2 separate regions of the Homo sapiens genome follow, and region 2 is linked to region 1. The links are contacts of gene promoters, found by promoter capture Hi-C in human tissues and cell types (Jung and others, 2019). All regions are on one chromosome and are shown on one strand. Each heading gives the region's core, a stretch centred on a gene start or on the middle of the fragment in contact. The rest is flanking DNA. Distances are from core to core; before and after follow the strand shown. Region 1 holds the start of KLHDC2 (kelch domain containing 2). Region 2 overlaps LRR1 (leucine rich repeat protein 1).

Region 1 (3,189 bases), core at 465-2,964:
TGGTTCAAGTGATTCTCCTGCCTTAGCCTCTCAAGTAGACGGGATTAGGGCGCCCGTCACCACGCCAGGCTAATTTTTTTTTTTGTATTTTTAGTAGAGACGGAGTTTCACTATGTTGGCCAGGCTGGTCTCGAGCTCCTGACTTCAGCTGATCCACCTACCTTGGCCTCCCAAAGTGCTAGGATTACAGGCGTGAGCCACCGCGCCCGGCCCCCTTTCTATTTTCTAACCACATTCATTGGAAACTGGGGAAAACACTGCAGATTCATTAGGATTGGCAAAAAATTACTTTTGCAGTTAAACCAAAATAAAGTATCAGGACAGCCATCTTTGAAAGCTATCTCAAAAATGGTCAACTATGATCAAGTCAGCTGTACCATAAGCTAAAAACAATCACAAAGCAAGTCATCCAAGGCACGGGCGTGGGGAGGGCGGAGAACATTTTCAAGACCAAAGAGGAATTTTGTGGTAGGACTGGCTCAGAGCCATCCTAGCAAATAAAATTCTAGATTTCCGAGGTTAGCAGGGTAAAGAATGGCAACTGGCTTTAAACTGCTAACTAATCACGTTGTTTATAACCAGGGGATCGGAGAGTCAAAGAGCTGCACTCTGTAGTTCATTTGATGCTGGGGATTTTTTGGTTACTGGTGGAGCTTTTCCATTATCTTAATAGGGGTGTCTGCTGAAAAACTTCAACCCAGCTGAAGCCAGAAGGAAAACAGTCCTGATGGCCATTTGCACAGGCGGGAAGGCTGAATAAGGTGGTTCCTGTAACCTTTTGGAATTCCAGTTTTCCTACACCTCGGCCTCCCTGTAAGTGGGCAGCGGTTCCCAGCTCCAGAGGGTGAAGTCCTCGTAGGCCGTCCTCATAACGCGTCTGAGTGATATCACACACCGTCACCTTTCACACCCCAACCCTTCCGAATGCACCGCCCAAGCAACATTAACAGGGCCTTCCCCGGAATAACGCTCCAATGGCAACAACGGGGGTGGGAGTGAGTTGGCTTTGTGAGCACCAGGGTGACATGACAGCAGCCCTGGAGGTTCGAGACGGGTTGGGGTACTCGAGAGAAGGAAGATTCCCGCGCGCAAAAAAAAAACAACCAACGGGCAGAGTCTGAGGTGGGGCGCGCGACGCAGGCGGGGAGCGCCCTCGGCGGCCCGCTCTGGCCTCCCCGCCTGGCCGCGAACGCAGACCCGAGTCACAGCCGAGCGACGTCCGTCGCGGCCCGGCCACTCACTGACCTTGTAGCCGCCCCAGACGAACATGTGGCGCCCGTCGCTGACGGCTACGTGGCCGCTGCGCTCAGCGGGGCAGGCAAGCTCCATGGACTCATAGCTCTCGAAGGCTGGCCCAGGCAAGTCGTCAGCCCGCAGATCCTCGTTGCCATCAGCCATCTTGAGGCTGCACTTTTGCTAACCAACAATGCCCACACCCGCGAGGGGCCAAAAAAACAAAGGAAAAGGAGAGAAATGCACAGCGGCGCGAGGCAAGGAAAAGGCGGTGGCGAAAGGGACGGCGTTGAGGCCTCTCTGCCGCCTGCGCTCGCGTTTCCCAGCCTCCTCGGCCGAGGACGGCTCTCCGCCGCCGCCGGGGCACGCCTGCAGACAGAGGGGCCGCGAGCGGAGCCGGGCGGCGGCGGCGCGGGCCCGGGACTCGGGGCACTGCAGGGAAGCGGTCCGCGTCGGGCCGGCTCCCTATTGCAGCCCGTCTGCCCCGCCTCCTGCAGTCCACGGCCTTGTTTACGCCGCGGCCGGAAGCCGCCCGTTCCGCTGACGCCGCCCGCCGAGCTCCGGAAGCGAGGCTGCCGCTCAGCGCCCCCAGCGCCGGGTCCTCCAGCCGCCGCCGCCGCCGCCGCCGCCTCTGCCCGCGCCTCCGCCTACGGCCTGGGCACCGCAGATCTATGGGGCCCGGCGACTTCTAGTCGCGCTTCGAGTCTCCTTTCACTGAGGGAACCACAGGGATAATGTCCTGAATCGGTCCCTGAAAGCTGCTGAATTTTAGCCGGATTGCCGCAATTTTTTTTTTCTTCCCGAGGATTTCTATTCGTTTGATTGAGGGATGATCTCAGAGGGTTCACAGCCCGGGCAGGGGCACCAGAATTGCTCCACTAGCAAGTTTCTGGTCTCGCCTTAGAGTCGATGCAGGCCCTGCTGTTCTGCGGGCGCGAGGGCAGTCGCTTAGCTCTCACGTGGGGCCCAGCCCGATCCCCGGGGGCCTCTCCTGAGCTCCTGCCGCCCCTGCCGGGCGCCGCCTCTGCGGGAATCTGACGTTGCCGCCGCCGCCGCTGCCGCCGCCAGCCGGGCTGCAGAGTTGGCTTGAAAAGCGTTTCCGAAGCCGTAACCACCCTTTTCTTCAGAAAGAAAGGCGGATCCTTTTCACGCACACACAGCTTTCTCTTATATGATACCTTTCAATTGGGCCAAAAGAAAATTACGAGTTACTGTGCTTGATACCTCACCTGTAAAATAGGGTGGGACAAAAATAATCTTAAATTCTTGATCTTACAGTGCCTGTAGAATTTATCGTGTTTGGTAGGAGGGACGTGCTTCATTATCTCCATTTCCCTCATCTTCTGGTTGGGAGCACTCCATAGAAAAGGAACACTTTGAACAATAAAAGGCTTTTTTTTTTTAATTATTAAAATGCTTATAGCCTGCCACTCCTCCCCTAGTGTGCCAGTGTGTTTACTTGAACTCAAGAACTTGAAAGTTACTTAAGAGGATTAATTAAAGCCTTCAACAAGGAAGCAAATCACCTTGAGGCTGTTAAGACCTTATCTGCCATCCACCCTGGTTGGTGCCCTCAAATCTGTCTGGTTCACAGAATTCCTTGCAGCAGTGTCTTCTCCCAGTCGAATTATGCTCACTAGACTTTGGGGTTATCGAAGTTCCTTGTGAACCAACCTCGTGAATCTGATCGAGTCACTTAAAAACCTTGAGCTGGCTCCCGTCGTCCTTAGTAGAATCCAAAATTAATATCTCGGCTGGGCGCGGTGGCTCACGCCTGTAATCCCAACACTTTGGAAGGCCGAGGCAGGCGGATCACCTGAGGCCAGGAGTTCGAGACCAGCCTGGCCAAAATGGCGAAACTCTGTCTCTACTGAAAATACAAAAAAATTACACAGGCTTGGTGGCCGGCGCCTGTAATCCCAGCTACTTGGGAGGCTCAGGCAGGAGAAACTCTTG
Region 2 (3,189 bases), core at 351-2,850, 170 kb after region 1:
AGGCTCAAGTGATCCTCCCACCTCAGGCTCCCAAGTAGCTGGCACCACAGGTGTGAAAACCACGCCTGGCTAATTTTTTTTTTTTTTTTTGTGGAGACAGGGTTTCACCATGTTGCCCAGGCTGGTCTTGAACTCCTGAGAGCAAGTGATCCACCAGTCTTGGCCTTCCAAAGTGCTGGGATTACAGGTGTGAGCTATGGCACCCAGCCTCAGTTTATATTTTTATAAGAATGATTACAGTCCGGGCACGGTGGCTCATGCCTATAATCCCAGCACTTTGGGCGGCCAAGGTGGGCGGATCACGAGGTCAGGAGTTTGAGACCAGCCGGGCCAACATGGTGAAACCCGTCTCTACTAAAGATACAAAAAATTAGCTGGGCATGGCGGCACGTGCCTGTAATCCCAGCTACTGGGAGGCTGGGGCAGGAGAATCGCTTGAACCCGGGAGGTGGAGGTTGCAGTGAGCTGAGATCACGCCACTGTAATCCAGCCTGGGTGACAGGGAGAGACTCTGTCTCATTAAAAAAAAAAAAAAAAAAAAAAAAAAAGGAATGATTACAGTAAGGGCCAGGCACAGTAGACAAAAATTCGCCAGGAGTGGTGGCACCCACCTGTGGGTTGCAGTGAACCAAGCTCTTCCCACTGCACTCCAACCTGGGTGACAGAATGAGACTCCATCTCAAAAAAAAAAAAAAAAAAAAAAAAAGAAGAAGAAGAAAGAATGATTACAGTAAATAAAATACAAGATGGTTCTAATTGAATTTTTTCCTCTTTTATTACAACAAACTTAGATTTGTAACCTGTGGTTTAGCTGGCAAAATGTAGACCTGTGCAGTTGCCTTATAGAGTTCCAGTCAAAGAACACCCTAGGGCTCCATCTTGAGCACAGAAGCAAACCCAGTTTTCTTCCCATCCTGGGAATCTTACTGAGGCAGACTTTGCCCTTTTAGAAGGCACACAAGCATATTTGGGAAGCTGCCTCTTGTGCCATTGCCTCTTCAAAAAACCTGCAAGAGTCTGTCCCTATTCGGCTATATGGGATAGCAGAATGTGCAAACAGCCTTCTTTAAAGAAAATACAGGCCAGGCTGAGCACAGTGGCTCACGCCTGTAATCCCAGCATTTTGGAAGGCTGAGGTGGGTGGATCGCCTGAGTTCAGGAGTTCAAGACCAGCCTGGTCAACATGGTGAAACCCTGTCTCTACTAAAGATAAAAAAAAAAAAAAAATCAGCCACGCATGGTGGTGGGTGTCTGTAATCCCAGCTACTCGGGAGGCTGAGGCAGGAGAATTGTTTGAACCCGGGAGATGGAGGTTGCAGTGAGCTGAGATCGTGCCACTACACTCCAGCCTGGGCAGCAAGAGCAAAACTCCGTCTCAAAACAAACAAACAAACAAACAAAAAAAGCAAGCAAGCAAGCAAATACACGCCAGGCCAAGTATGGTGGCTCATGCTTATAATCCCAACACTTTGGGAGGCTGAGGCAAGAGGATCGCTTGAGGCCAGGAGTTCAAGGCCAGTCTGGGCAACATCATATCAAGACTCCGTCTCTACAAAAAGTTATTTTAAAAATTTATCCGGGAGTGGTGAGGTACACCTTTAGTCCCAGATATTCAGGAGGCTCGCTTGAGCCTAGGTGTTTGATGCAGTGAGCTATGACTATGCCTCTGTACTTCAGCTTGGGTGACAGAACAAGACTCTGTTTCTAAAAAATAAAGAAAATACAGCCAAATATTAATCATTAATGTTTTTAATACCATACCTTACTTAGACAGATATCCACAGGAGGCTCCTTTAACCGAACAGTGGCTTTCCCCTCATCTACAAATTTGGTGAAGAATTGCTCAATGTTCTCCCTTAGCTGCATAAAACCAATAGAAAAAAAAGAAGAAAACTAATTATTGTTACTCAGTAACATTTATTACAACTAGAATGTGCCAGTTACTTTGCCAGGCTTTGGTTTGGCTTTTAGTCCTTGAGTCTGAGTGTTTTCATTTTAAGTTTTAAAGCTTTTTATCACGCCACTGCACTCCAGGCTGGGCAACAGAAAGAGACTCCTTCTCAAAAAAAAAAAAAAAAAAAAAAAAAAAGTTGTTTTTTTTTGAGACAGAGTCTCACTCACTCTCACCCAGGATGGAGTGAAGTGGTGCCATCACTGCAACCTCCACTTCCCAGGTTCAAGCAATTCCCATGACTCAGCCTCCTGAGTAGCTCGGATTACAGGTGCGTGCCACCATGCCCGGCTAATTTTTGTATTTTTAGTAGAAACACGGTTTCATCATGTTGGCCAAGCTGGTCTAGAACTCCTGGCCTCAAGTGATCTGCCTGCCTGGGCCTACCAAAGTGCTGGGATTACAGGCATGAGCCACGGCGCGTGGCCAAGTTTTAAAGTTTTTTTTTTTTTTTTTTTTTTTAGCAGTTGGGAAGTTATACTCCTCATCTAGCTGGTGGTGGATGTTACTGCTCTGTCTGTCCAGTAACTCTCCTTTGAGAACAGGATCACCATGTTTTGAGAGAATGCTCCTTTTCTCCCATTCCAACTATGTAACTGTAGGAAGAGTTGCCAATAGCAGTTACTTGCCTTCATAACTTCAGTCCATTAGCCTGGGGTGGGCACACCTCCCAGTAGGTTATATACAAACTCCATGAGAGCAGGAATCTTGTCTCCTTTGCTATTCTATCCTGAGTGCTAGAACGATGACTGACACATAATGAGTGCTCAAAAAAAATTTAATGATTATCATCTATATAAATGGCATATTTAAAATTTAAAAAAAATTAATGATTGCTGTTGCATCTGCTTTAGATTTCAACAACTATTGATTCAGAACCCACTATGTACCAGGTACTCTAATAGGGGCTTGGGACATAGCAATGAATAAGACTGACAGGGTAACTACACTTAAAGAGTTGACAATCTGATGAGAGATAGTTATTAAACAAGTACTTATAAGCATAACAAATATCAAGACAAGGCAAGTGCAGGATGCTGTGACCTGATTTTTTTTAAGAAAGCACATTAAGCTTTAATATAGAAATATTTAGGTTACACTTGTGCTCAAGTAATAAAACATTTGTTCTTTTTTGATCTCATACATTCTCTCCTCAGGTATGGCCCATCTCCTGTACGCTTGGAGCGACCTTTGGCTACGTGGCTGGCCTTGTTATTTCACCACTCTGGGTATGCTGG

Evidence for each region. Contacts are between HindIII fragments. The study calls those that stand out against the background at their distance.
Region 2: a fragment that was not itself captured here is called in contact with the fragment with the promoter of KLHDC2 in region 1 in 1 of the 25 tissues and cell types used here (mesenchymal stem cells).

Annotation. Positions count from the first base shown.
Region 1 is chr14:49,766,678-49,769,866 of GRCh38, reverse strand. KLHDC2 (kelch domain containing 2) reads right to left here and starts at 1,714. Exons shown (of 13, transcript NM_014315.3): 1 at 1,246-1,714. The coding sequence starts at 1,398. RefSeq lists silencers at 1,485-1,664, 1,835-1,914, 2,255-2,314. The HindIII fragment of the contact is 15,286 bases long and covers 1-3,189 here.
Region 2 is chr14:49,601,041-49,604,229 of GRCh38, reverse strand. LRR1 (leucine rich repeat protein 1) reads right to left here. Exons shown (of 4, transcript NM_152329.4): 2 at 1,762-1,860. Among named protein-coding and RNA genes, the nearest start is that of LRR1, 3.7 kb to the right of the region's middle. The HindIII fragment of the contact is 4,652 bases long and covers 1-3,189 here.